3 separate regions of the Homo sapiens genome follow, and all the other regions are linked to region 3. Evidence: promoter capture Hi-C in 16 types of primary human blood cells and fetal thymus (Javierre and others, 2016). All regions are on one chromosome and are shown on one strand. Each heading gives the region's core, a stretch centred on a gene start or on the middle of the fragment in contact. The rest is flanking DNA. Distances are from core to core; before and after follow the strand shown. Region 1 holds the start of LOC105369672 (a long non-coding RNA gene). Region 2 overlaps PTPRO (protein tyrosine phosphatase receptor type O). Region 3 holds the start of ATF7IP (activating transcription factor 7 interacting protein).

What was found. The method cuts DNA at HindIII sites, captures the fragments that hold promoters and counts their contacts. A CHiCAGO score of 5 or more calls a contact.
Region 1: a contact is called between a fragment that was not itself captured here and the fragment with the promoter of ATF7IP in region 3, in 1 of 17 cell types (non-activated CD4 T cells). The highest score is 5.4, in non-activated CD4 T cells.
Region 2: a contact is called between a fragment that was not itself captured here and the fragment with the promoter of ATF7IP in region 3, in 1 of 17 cell types (non-activated CD4 T cells). The highest score is 5.4, in non-activated CD4 T cells.

What each region holds. Positions count from the first base shown.
Region 1 is chr12:15,552,179-15,557,029 of GRCh38, forward strand. The region is part of intron 15 of PTPRO (protein tyrosine phosphatase receptor type O); the gene reads left to right. It overlaps LOC105369672 (a long non-coding RNA gene), which reads right to left and starts at 3,733. Exons shown (of 3, transcript XR_002957403.2): 1 at 3,486-3,733. The HindIII fragment of the contact is 1,837 bases long and covers 508-2,344 here.
Region 2 is chr12:15,569,030-15,573,390 of GRCh38, forward strand. PTPRO (protein tyrosine phosphatase receptor type O) reads left to right here. Exons shown (of 27, transcript NM_030667.3): 19 at 388-469. Among named protein-coding and RNA genes, the nearest start is that of EPS8, 220 kb to the right of the region's middle. RefSeq lists an enhancer at 2,012-2,201. The HindIII fragment of the contact is 5,261 bases long and covers 1-3,993 here.
Region 3 is chr12:14,363,558-14,368,048 of GRCh38, forward strand. It overlaps ATF7IP (activating transcription factor 7 interacting protein), which reads left to right and starts at 2,125. Exons shown (of 15, transcript NM_018179.5): 1 at 2,125-2,270. It overlaps LOC124902884 (a long non-coding RNA gene), which reads right to left and starts at 3,633. Exons shown (of 2, transcript XR_007063220.1): 1 at 1,792-3,633. RefSeq lists enhancers at 1,706-2,523, 1,755-1,814, 2,285-2,344, 3,701-3,840. The HindIII fragment of the contact is 10,385 bases long and covers 1-4,491 here.

The sequences.
Region 1 (4,851 bases), core at 176-2,675, 1.2 Mb after region 3:
CAGCTTAGTTTTTCTTGCAATTAGAAAAGCCTTTGATTTATGATTTCAGCTCTTCCCTGTTCCTTTGACCACTGATGCATTGCTCATCAGAGCACATTCTCAAGTAGTTTCTGTGGCCCCCTGTATTATCAGAATAATCTATCAATTCCCTTAAAAACTGTTGCTTATTTGAATACTACTTGGTTTGGGAAATTTTGTTAACATTTATATTTGCCCAATATTAACCTGCTGAATTATAAATTAACATTCTTCTCCTGTCTCAGAGTTCTATCACTCACATATTTATAAATAAATTCATCTATCCAATAGTGATCTAATCAGTGCCTGACATGGCATATCCAAAGAAAAATCAGACATCAAAGCTGTCCACTAGGAGCTTACTTACCTAACTGGATATATGAATAGATAGATATATTTAAAGGCATAAGCTGACATGTAGCATAAAGGGGATTAAAAACAGGATGCCATGAAACTAGAGAATAAAGACTAATTCTGAATGTGAAAATAAGCTTCTTGAAGGTTGGCATTTGAATAATCTTAAAAGGATAAGAAGAGATGTGGGATTGCACTGTAACTACAGTGGAGAGCTCTGAAATTACACTCCTTGAGGTCAAATCTTTTTTTTTTTTTTTTTTTTTTGAGACAGAGTCTCACTCTGTCGCCCAGGCTGGAGTGCAATGGTGCCATCTTGGTTCACTGCAAGCTCTGCTTCTCAGGTTCAAGCGATTCTTCTGCCTCAGTCTCCTGAATAGCTGGGATTACAGGCACGCACCACTAGGCCTAGTTAATTTTTGTATTTTTAGTAGACACAGGGTTTCACCATGTTGGCCAGGCTTGTCTCGAACTCCTGACCTTAAGTAATCTGCCCACCTCAGCCTCCCAAAGTGCTGGGACTATAGGCGTGAGTCACCATGCTCGGCCTCCTTGAGATCGAATCTTGACTTCCAACTTGCGTGAATTTGTGTAGGTCACTGAAACTTCATGCGTTCATATTACAAATATTGCTACATATATGACAGTATATGAAACAGACAAAAATATGTGCCTTCATGGAGCTCATATTCTAGTGGGAGAAATAGACAATAAACAATAAAGATATAAGTAAAAGGACTGCCCCTTAAGTTAGCAGGTGATAAGGAAAGGAAACAAGGTCAGGTAAGGGAGATAAGCAGTACCAGTGTGGTGTTAGGGGTCCTAGGAGGTGGGTAGGCTTCACTGAAATAATGGCATTGGAGCAGAGACTTGAAGCACATGAGGGAGGTAGCCTGTGTTATCTGTGGGAAGAGTGTGCCCAGTGGCAAGAACAGCTGGTGTAAAGGCCCTGGGGTAGGAGCACGACTGGGATGTTCAAAGTGTAGCAGAGGGGCCGTTGTGACTAAAGCGGAGGAAGACAAGAGTAGAAGGAGATGTCAAGTTATGCAGGGCTTCGTATGCCTTTGGAAGGACTTTGGCTTTTACTCAGTAAAATGAGCAGGCATTGCAGGCTCTGGAGCAGAAGATTAACAGCATCTGACTTAGATTTAACACTTTCATTTTGACTTTTATGTAGAAAACAGGCTGTATTGAGGCAAGGACAGAGACAGGCATATCAACTGTGGTAGCCAGGAATCCAGGCAAGAGATGCTAATAGTTCAGTCCAGAGCAGCAACACTGAAGGCAGAGAGAAGCCATCAGATTCTGGACATATTTTGAAAATAGGAGCAACAGGATTTGCTAATAAGTTGATATGGAATGGAAATGAAAAAAGGAGTTGAGGCTATAATCCCAGCACTTTGGGAGGCTGAGCCAGGTGGATCACCTGAAGTCGGGAGTTCGAGACCAGCCTGACAAACATGAAGAAACCCTGTCTCTACTGAAAATACAAAATTAGCTGGGCGTGGTGGCACATGCCTGTAATCCCAGCTACTCAGGAGGCTGAGACAGGAGGCAGAGGTTGCGATGAGCCGAGATTGCGCCATTGCACTCCAGCCTGGGCAACAAGAGTGAAACTCCATCTCAAAAAACAAATAAACAAAAAAAGAGAGTTGAGGCTAACTCCTGGGTTTTTGGCCCAAGCACTTGAAAGGATGGAGCTGCCATCAACTGAGAGAGGATTCCAGGTCAGAGTTGGGGGAACATCAAGACTTCAGTTTTGGAAATTGTATTAGTCAGAGTTCTCTAGAGGGTCAAAACTAATAGTACATAGTAGTATATATATATCCTATTAGATATTATATATAGATATAGTGTGTGTGTGTATATATATATATATCTCCTATTATATATTATACATAGATATAGGTATATGGGAGTTTATTAAGTATTAACTTCCACGATCACAAGGCCCCACAGTAGGCTGTCTGCAAGCTTGAGGAGAAAGGAGAGCCAGTCTGAATCTCAAAACTGAAGAACTTGGAGTCCAATGTTGAAGGGCAGGAAGCGTCCAGCACAGGAGAAAGATGTAGGCTGGGAGGCGAGGCCAGTCTCTCCTTTTCACATTTTTCTGCCTGCTTTATATTCACTGGCAGCTGGTTAGATTGTGCCCACCCAATTAAGGGTGGGTCTGCCTTTCCCAGCCCACTGACTCATATGTTAATCTCCTTTGGCAACACCTTCACAGACACACCCAGGATCAATACTTTGTGTCCTTCAATCCAATCAAGTTGACCCTCAGTATTAACCATCACAGAAATGTTAAGTTTGAGATAACTTGCAAGTGCAGGTGCAGAGTAGCCACCTGGACATAAAAGTCTAATGTTTGAAAGAGAATTTTTGGTTGAAGATATAAATTTGAGAGTTGTTGGTTCTGCACAGTGGCTCATGCTTGTAATCCCGGCACTTTGGGAGGCAGGCAGCTCACTTGAGGTCAGGAGTTTGAGACCAGCCTGGCCAACATGGTGAAACCCCGTCTCTACTAAAAATACAAAAAAATTAGCCAGGCGTGGTGGCGGGTGCCTGTAATCCCAGCTACTCAGGAGACTGAGGCAGAAGAATCGCTTGGACTTGGGGGGCGGAGGTTGCAGTGAGCTGAGATCGTGCCACTGCACTCCAGCCTGGGCGACGACTGAGTGAAACTCCGTCTCAGGAAAAAAAAAATTGAGAGTTGTTAACATATAAATTGCGTTAGAGCTTTAGACTGGATGAAATTCAGGGAGTAAATGTAAAAGAAGGCCCTGCATTAATCACTGGAACAATCAATATTAAGGTTTTCAGGGAGAAAAGAAGATAACAGTAAGCGACTGACAAAGAGGCAGCCAGTGAAGTATAAGGACAACTAAGGGAGTGTGGTGGCCTGGAAGCTAGGGGAACAATGTGTATGCAGAAGAGATGATAATTGCCCCTATATTAGTGGATACTTAGGAGCATTAACGCAGTAATAACATAGCGTAATACTCAACTCATAGGAAGTGTGCAGTAAATGTTAGCTCATAATAGTAATGGTGGAGGAGGTGGTAATAGATGTAATGCAAGTAGTGGTATTTCTGAGCATTTTTTGTGGTACATACCAAAGATATTTAGGAGAGGTGGTTCTGATTCTTTCAGCTAGTTATTAAAGCATAGATTCTCATCATTTTTCATGCTATGATCCTTTTTGGCAGTCTGGTGAACTCTTCTAAGAATAATGCTTCCATTTTCTGTGCCTAAAATAAAATACATAGGATTATACAACTATATTGAAATATGATAATCATAATATTTAAAAAGCAAATGTGTTGTACACTTTTTAATTAGTATATTCAATGTCAATATGTAATAGTCTAACAATTTCATCATGGTGATGCATATGACCAATATTTCAAGATATCTGCAGCAAGTCTATTATTAAAAAATATGTAATCTCTATTGTTAGCAAATCATCCATGTGGATATTCTGATGGTTTGGTACCTACTTTAATGATAGAAAGGACTGCTAAGTTTAGTCACAGGTTGTGAAAATAAATATGTACCCTTTTCCCACATATGTTCATAGAGTCCTAAATTCTATCTTTGGAACTCCAGATTAAAACCCTTGAGTTACAGGTAAAATAAATCCCATATATAGGAAATTGACATAGGAAAATTCATTAATGATGTGTAAATTATAATACACTATGATATTATATTAGTGTATTTTTCAAAAGAAGAAAATTGTTCTTGGAACACCTTAATAAGAACAGGTAGATAATTCAAGTAATTAGCACATTGTGCCAGTAATGTTAAAATCTCTGCTTCAGTTCTGAGTATTAAATCCATTAATTCCGTATAAAGAAAAAATGAGATACATGAGCCCCAATGAGCTGTTATTCATGCATGAAATTAGCCAAAAGATAGAGAAGGCATGAGAATATGTTTACTTTTTCTCTACTTCTGGAAAAAAAAAAAAAACTTCAACAGTGTTTTTACTAGCAGATTAATAGGCCACATTCCGGACAGTAGGCACACCAGAAGCTTGCCTATTTCAATACATTCCACTCTTTTATTCTAATCTCCAGTGATGAATAATACGGGCATCACAATATAAGAGAAAGATTTTGGAGGAAGTAAACAATCCACTTGATCCACTATCATTGTAGGGAGGAAATCAAAATGCCATAAACAAAACCCTACAAAGAATTTTTGCTAAAGATGGAAAATGCTCAGTTCATCTAGGAGAGTTTCTATGTTACTATTAAAGGCTTTGTAAAAAAATAAATAAATATTATACCCCAAATAGTTCAAATATTTCTTTTAGAATCATGAATGCCCTTTGGAAAGGATTGTGAAGTGAATTCTTTTGGCCTCAAATAATTTGATTTGCAAACTTGCAAAAGATTATTTCTTTTCGTTTTAGCTTTCTGTTTTGCATTGTATGCCAAAAGGGAACATATGGAACTTCTATTAGCTTCTTTTATT
Region 2 (4,361 bases), core at 113-2,612, 1.2 Mb after region 3:
GTCAATAAAGCAAAACCATAACTCAAACAGGTCTTTGGAATCCATTCCTTTGTTATTTTCCATATGCCAGAGTTTTTTAGAAGCAACACAGATGGGGGTGTGTGTATACGAGTATGCATATATATACTACTGTACTGCTACAGTAAGAGCCAAGTGGAAATCTAGAGATTTCTCCTATCAAGGAAGCTGGATATATATGCCCTTCTTTTCAATTGCAATATATTAAGGATTGGTAACTTGAACCAAAAAAAAAAGGTGAGTGCTAACCTTAGAGAAGTAAAACTTCTATTTTCTCCAAGAAGATTAAGAAGTATGATATTAAACAATATATAATACCTATCAACAAGAATTTTAAAATGTATGTATATTTCTTTGTGTTTGGCAAAGCCCGGTTCAACTGGATGACTTTGATGCCTATATTAAGGATATGGCCAAAGACTCTGACTATAAATTTTCTCTTCAGTTTGAGGTGAGTTGGTTAAGGCATTTTCTACCTTCTGTAATGGAAAGGGCCTGGGAATTGGGGGGTTTGTGTTGCGGTCATGTCCCTGCTCACTGGCAGTGCGTAACAAAAAGGGTATTGGCCTGGGGATTGCTGATCTGCTGGTTTAGAGCAAGGGTTGTCAATCCTTGCTTAGTAGGCAAGGCCTCAGGTGGCACAAATGAGATGAGGGGAAGAAGAGAATAGGTGCAGGTACTGAGGTGAGCAAACATGGGTATAGTAGAAGCCATCATTGAAAACCAGGGAAATCGAGAGTACAAGAAGAAAAATGCAAGCTGAGGCATGAAGCCTGAGACAGAATTTCCCTTTCAGGGGATTTGTAGTGTTTCTCATGCTTCTTAGGCCACAGTAGTGGCGGATAGTGGATAAAACTGACCCCCTTTGTGTCCTGGGCACATAACATCCTGGAGTAGGGCTTTTCAAGCTATAGGACTCCTGGCATTCTACTTAATAACTTTTGTGCAGTTTTATTTTCTTTCCTTGGACAAATTGGGGAGATAAAGTTACACATGATTTGTGTTAAGAAAAAAATTGACAACATCTCTTTTTTTCCGAAGGACACATATTTCTTTGGATCTAAAACCATATGTCAGAAGAGATGGAAGTGAGTGAGTCTAATATCTCAGCAGTGTGGGGGAAGATAATTAGTTCTCACTTTTTCTTTCTACATATTTTATAGCTCATAACACAGTCTAAATGGCCCCCCATCCTTCAGGTTTCTATAGCATGGCTTGAGTGGTCAGTGATTCAGGGAAAAGGGGAAGATAAAGTGATTTTTCTAAATTCTGTAGTTTTTTTTTTTTATAAAGCCTTTTAAGTGCTCTTTTCTATTAAGGTAGCTGCTTTTTCTTCAGTTTTTAAAATCATTTCTCCTTTCCACTTCTCAGCCAAGGACAGCTTTAGTCTGCAAAAAGCATCAGTGGTCCTGGTGTGGAGACACTAATGGGGAATTTGAGGATGAGAAGAATCTTATACATTACCAAATACAAAGACCGCTAACTACCACCTGTGTCCTGAAAAATTCCACACAGAGCCTGCTCACTTATCCATTGTATCCAGGTGCATAGGATATTATAGATGCTACACCAAATGCTATACTCAAAGAAATTCAATTTGAATTGGAAATGAATGAGGAGGATGGCATTTCAGAAAGTATATCAAGGAAAGGAGGACTTTTTTTCTAAGCAAACATGAGGCAAAACTCTGAAAAAATAAATAGCTAGATGATTCTAACGATGATAGAAATTATGGTATAGCTACACTTTTACCTTATTAAAGCCACATTTTCTTAATTCCTTCAAGATGGCATGCCCTTGGTGGCACAGCTGGATCATAACCTCTGCTGGCAACTCACAGTTTATGTCTTGAAACCCAAGCATAACTATTACTGTTTCTGAATTGCATGAAAAAAAATTCAACAAGTCATTTTCCAGTAAACATATTCTTTTAGTTGTGAGTGACAAAAACATAGCTCAAACTTGTTTAAACTAAAGGAAAGGGGGTTTATTCAAAGGATACTAAGGTATCTCATACAATCAAAGAAAAGGTTGAGTAGCTAGACTACGTGCAGGGAAGCAGCACAGTTTCAGGGATGACTGGAGCCAGGGGCCCCTCTATTTCTCATTTCTGCTTCTCTCTCTGTTTTGGTTTCACTTTGTTTCACTGAACAAAGAGAAACAAAGAGAAACGCAGCCAGAGAGGGCAGATGTTTGTGTTCAGTGAAACAACAAACAACCTCTTTTTCTGTCACTTTTGTTTTGTTTTGTTTTGTTTTTTGAGACAGTCTCACTCTGTTGCCCAGGCTAGAGAGCAGTGGCGCGATCTTGGCTCACTGCAACCTCCGCCTCCCAGGTTCAAGTGATTCTCCTGCCTCAGCCTCCTGAGTAGCTGGGACTACAGTTGCCCACCACCATGCCCGGCTAACTTTTGTATTTTTAGTAGAGACAGGGTTTCACCATATTGACTAGTCTGGTCTCGAACTCCTTACCTTGTGATCTAGCTGCCTCAGCCTCCCAAAGTGCTGGGATTACAGCCGTGAGCCACGATGCCCAGCCCAACCTCTTTTTCATAGTGAAAAGCAGCCAACAACAACCCTTGAGCACCACAGCCTTTTGTTTCCATGGTTTCCAAAGGGAATTACTGTCTGTCTTTCTTGTTTGTAGTTTGAAAATTAACAGGGGAGGATTTTGATGGACGAGCCTGTGTCATGGTGCCCATTCAAACCAATCACAGCCAGAGAGGGCAGATGCACAGAATCTCTAAATGGAACCATGTGGGCTCAAGTAGCAAAACCTAAGAAGGGCATTATCTCCCAATAAAGAGAGGGTATTGGGAGAACCAAACCATAAGCGATTAGCATGCTATCTTTAGATATCACAAAAATATGAAAAGCAGAATTATAAATTTTATGTGCTAAATGTTCAATTTATAATATGCTGAGGGCTTTTATTCATTCAATGGATAAATGAATACATTTAGCCTGACTTCATAGGATTTATAAGAAATGTGCTAAACTAGGAATCTAAAATCCTGAATCCTCACTACAGTGTTGCTACTAATTAACATTCTAAAAAATATGTTTTTTTCTTAACCAATTGATATATAATGAGTTTGGGGTGGGCTTGGGGGCGGATGATGTATTAGCTACAGATTTTTTATGTAGTGAACATGCTCATGTATAAGTTTCAATTTATCCAACTACTTTGTTGGAATAATTCTTATGGATTGAAACTGCCCAGGCAAAGTATATACAAAATCTGCATTTTGAGTAAATTTCCCATAAGTGGAGTAAGTTTTCCCAGTGTTCCTAAAACTATACAAACAGTATAGTATAGTATATACTTCCTAAAACTATACAAAGAGTAGATATCAACATTTGTAATCATTGATAATGTAATATTACAAAGAAATTGCTTTCTCATCTGTTAACGTTAAGCTACATCATCTTCATATAGCACTATTAGTCATTTGTGTTATTTCATTTTCCTCTGTTTCTTTTATTTTCATGTACCTTATAATCTTCATCATTTTGTTACTGATTTCTAACAGCTGATTTATGATTAAAGAGGTTAACATTTTGTGAAGGGCTGAAAATGAAATACCATTTTTTTCTCATTTTTTTACATTGGGGTTTTATTTGGAGTTTGTACAGAAGTTGTGTATTTAAAAAATAATCATGTTCTGCTTTTTTTTAAGTACATTTTCTCATCACCTTAGTTTCTTTATGTATAAAATGGGTGAGTTGAACTAGATCAATGGTTCTCAACTGGACAAGTACCAGTCAGCCCCCAGATGAAATTTGAAAATGTGTGGGAGTGTTTTTGGTTGTTATAATAGCTTAGGAGGAGGATGCTAACAGTATTTTATGGAAGAGGGACGAGGCGTTAAATGCTCTTCAATGAGTGGGACATTCCCGCACAATAGAGAATTGTCCTAGGCCGAAAGTGTTTGATTGAGAAATATGGGTTAAATATGGGATGAGGCTACAATCAAGCTTTATAACCCATGTGTATTAGTCATGGGTTCTCCAGAGAAACCAATGGGATGTTTATATAGAACAAATATGATGTATATATAGAGAGATCTATTTTAAGGTATTGGCTTTTGAGGTTATGGAGGCTGACAAGTCTGAAACCTGAAGGGCAGGCTGGCAGGCTGGAGATCCAAGGAAAAGTTGAGTTTGCAGTTTTGAGTTTGAAGGCAATGGGGAGGCAGAATTCCTCCCTCCTTGTAGGACCTGTCTCTTCTCATCAGGCCTTCAAACTGACTGGATGAGGCCCAGCCACATTACGTAGCATAATCAGCCTTCCTCAAACTCTACTTACGTAAATGTTAATCACATATGAGAAAAACACCTTCA
Region 3 (4,491 bases), core at 875-3,374:
TATGCTTACAGAAGACATAAAAAGAGAAACATAATGGGCTCTAGTATTCCAATCCAATTTCTCTTATTATTATGGAGTGTAACATTTAATATCAATATTTCTAATTTTCTGAGCATCTACTTATAATTGAGCACTGATGTACTATGAAAATTATAATAAATAAATTATAATTGAGCATCTATAATTTATTGAGTATATGCTAAGGACTGTGCTAATGATGTTACAACATTTAGCGATTAAACAATGCAAATTTAATTGTGTTATATCCCGACTTAAAACCTTTTAAATGATTCCTCATTGCTGTCCCAATGAGGTCCAACTTTTAGGCAAAAAATTAATTAAATCATTTATCATGATAGAGATGACCTCTTCTAGGAAGGCTTTTCTAATTCTCTAGGTCTGGATTAGGTGATATTTCTTTTTTTTTTCTTCGAGATGGAGTCTCACTCTGTTGCCCAGGCTGGAGTGCAGTGGCGTGATCTTGGCTCACTGCAACCTCTGCCTCCCGGGTTCAAGTGATTCTCCTGCTTCAGCCTCCCGAGTAGCTAGGACTACAGGCGCGTGCCACCACGACTAGCTAATTTTTTTTTTTTTGTATTTTTAGTAGAGGCGGGGTTTCACCATGTTACCCAGGATGGTCTCGATCTCCTGACCTCATGGTCTGCCCGCCTCGGCCTCCCAAAGTGCTGGGATTACAGGCGTGAGCCACTGCACCCGGCCCTAGGTGATATTTCTAAAGGCCACCTTATATTTTAAGTAAATTGAATGGTTCCAGTTATAAAAATAAGTATTAACAACCCTATTCTAATTTCTTATTAGTTACAAAAATTTCTTGTTCAGTTTTCTGTCTTCTTCACTAGAGTACAGATTTCTTGAGGACAGGCACCTAACAGATCTACAACACAGTGATTGCTAAATAAATACTGAACCAATACATTCATATAATGAGAAGTTACATAAAAAAACAATAACCACACGGTACCATCTAATATTATTTTCAGGCTATTCTTGCCTTGCAAAACATATGTACTTTTATTCTTTTTTTTTTTTTTTTTTTTTGATAAGGGGTCTTGCTCTGTAGCCCAGGCTGGAGTGCAGTGGTGAGATCTTCGCTCACTGCAATCTCGGCCTCCCAGGTCCCAGTTCAAGCAACTCTCCTGCCTCAGCCTCCTGAGTAGTTGGGATTACAGGCACGCACCACCATGCCTAGCTAATTTTTGTAATTTTAGTAGAGACGGGGTTTCACTATGTTGGCCAGGCTGGTCTTGATCTCCTGACCTCAGGTGATCCACCCCCCCTCAGACTTCCAAAGTGCTGGGATTACAGGCCTGAGCCACGGCACCTGGCCAAAACATATGTACATTTATTCTATCATTTAGTGCTTCCAACCTAGTTCAACTATAGTCATGATTGCCATTATACAGGTGAGAAAACTGAGTAACACACTTATTCCGAGGAACCGGCAAGGAAGCTGCAGTAGTTGAACTTGAACCCAGATCTCTTAACCAGTAAGGCAGTGACTTGTCCACTACCTCCTGTGGAATTCATTAAAGGCCGACTCCCAGCATGAAATTGAATAAATGGGATGAATACAACTTCTGGTGAGAGAGTATGATAAAAAGTGCTTGCTCTGTTACCAAGCAACTGAAAGAAAGTATGTTTTTTTCATTCCTTCATTATTAATACAATTCAAAGTACATTCTGTGAATTTAAAACATAAATGATGAATAAATCAACATACTCCTGGCTTTTATGAAAATCTTTCCCTCTGCTCTTTAAACTCTCACCTACCTCCTTCCTTCTTTCTTTTCTAAGCCTCATAGAGGGCGCTCACAAAGTGCTACTTATTGATTGAGGAAGATCCACTCAAAAAACACACCTCACACTGCAACTGAGAGACGCAGCGCCACCACCTCGGGCTTCCTTCTCTTTTCCACGCAGGAGGCGGGGCCAATGTCCCTCATTCAAATAAAAAACCAGAATTTGCATGGGGAATGGCTAGTCCTTGAGCTTATTGGCTGATAGCACAGTGGGCGGGGTACATAGCACGACCCCCCGGAGCCCCGCCCATATTAATTTGCATAACGGCCCCGGCGCGTGCAAGGGAGAAGCGGGTTTGTTTTTGAATCTGCGGAGGCGGCGGCGGTGGCAGCGGCGGCGCGGCGACTGAAGCGCGCGAAAAGCTGAGGCGGCAACGTCGGGGACGGCTGCGCGGGACGGCTCTGTAGGAAGGAACTTGGTTCCCCCTCCCTCAGCTTCCGCCCCAAAAGGTATATGTGAATCCCAGGGGCTGTTAAAACCACATTTTCTTAAATTACTATTGTATTTCTGAAGAGTCAAGACCGCATTATGGCGGCTGCGGGAGTTGTGTCTGCGCCTGCGCGGTTGCGGAGCTGCGGGCGGCGCTGCATGGGAGCACGTGATCTTGCGGGGTCGGGCTCTAGCTGCAGTTGTGCAGCTGGCGGGGCGGTGGCTGCGCAAGCGCAATATTCATTTTCAAGATCTAATGTTCTTGTTGGACGCCATTTGGGTTCTAGATTTAATTTTCCTCGTTCTTGAGGGGTTTCTTTGTGTTAACCTTAAATTCTCACAATTTTCAAGAAAAACATTACTCTAATGTTGTACTCCTGGGCCGACCTCAAGCTCTTCTCTGTTTTTTCGATTTTTTGAAAAATTGTGGACTTAATTTTCTGTAAAAATGATTTTCATTTGTGGTTCTTGATTATAATTTCAGTTTTAAAGTATTACTGGATTCAGGTTTATATTTACGGTGGTAAAGATCAGCACCTAGTGGTGTTCTCACGGGAAGTGCATTTATTTGAACTGCATATTTGCAAATACATTTTTAACCCTATTTTTACCTGTTCTGTTATGGATGTGTGGAATGTTTACAAAACAGAAACAATTTTAGTTTTGGGAATATTGGGGGAACGGGAATAGTGGAAGAAATTACAGTATAATCGAAAATGAAATCTCAATCTGAGGATTATTTTGGTTTTAAATGTTTGATCCTAAGTAAATAAAGTTTTAATTTTAATCAGTTTGTATGTTTCTGGGCATTTGAATTTTACATGTTTTAAGTTTCTTAGGTGACTTGTTCATTACTGCTTCAGCTAGATTATTGTTACTTTTGAAATTAATCAACTCATTTTCTTAGCATTTTTGTTTGCTATGATATGTAAGCTATAACATTTATTTGGTAAATTTTTCTGATGAAGAATTCTAGAAAGAACATCCATTACCCTGAGGCCTCTTTGAAGAAAGTGGACCATTAATAAAAAAAATCTGTTTTTTTCTTTTAAACACTGTACTGTATGCATGTGTGTAAGATACAGTTGTGTTTGATTTTTTAATTGTAAGTGTGCTCCTGGTTTTATTAATAGTTTTTTAGGGAAGGTAATTATAAATATGCTACTGATTAGTTTAAAATGGTAGTGTCAACTATAGTTAAATCTTATGTAACACAATTGGGGGAAGTTATATAAGATTTGATATGATTCTCCCGTTGTGCAAATTCTTTCTTACTAAGCAAAGAAACTTGCAAATGTTTTCCATAGACTTCATTTGTGGTTCATATATACAACAACTGGTTTCTTGGTTGGTTATAACTCTTTAAGTTTGAATCAGTCTACTGTCAAATGAAGACGTGCCTCTTGCTTTATAATCTCGGTTAATTTAGGGAAATTTTTATTGCCTAAAACAAATACCATTAGTAAATATTACCTAGATGTAATTGAAAGTAATACTTTTGGTTGGTGGATTTTTAAATGACGTCACATATGAGATAGAATGGAGGTAGGAAAGATTCTTCTTTTTTTCTCAAGAGAATATTTGACCTGATGTAATTCTTGGATCTCTGAGGTCTTCTACACAGAAGTATATTTAGAGAGCAGTTGTGTAATTTTCTCCCTTTTATGTTTCTGGAGTGGTTACCTAGCAGCCCCTTTCTACCACATGCTATTTCAGGCATTTTCGAGTTGAACATACACATAAATATTTCGGTTAACAAAAGAACTTTGATCTTTGATCTTAGGGCATGGTACACTTTACATTTCCAGAAAAATGAAATAGTTTGGTGTATATAAGCGTATGTTTTCATTTGAATATACAGATGATTGCTTTTTAGGTTAATATTGAAGGTAGTAAGAGGTATTTGAAAATGCTCTTGAATATGAAGAACATATTTATTGATGGGACGATTTTGCTGTCATGTTTCTTACAAGGCAGATATAATCATGTAAACTTAATAAGATTAATTAATTGCCTGAACACCAACTATTTGTTTATTAGTACTTTGTCAATAACAAGTATATTTTAAAATTTTAGTTTGGTGGTTATGATGCCACAAAATTTTGACACATATCCAACATATATAAATATTAAGACTAGGTTACTCCAGGAATGAATACCAAGTTACTGAAGTTATTTAAAATCTTTGTAGTTTTGTAAATTTAAAAATTTATATGTAGTTTAGAAAAGACAGGTTTGAGT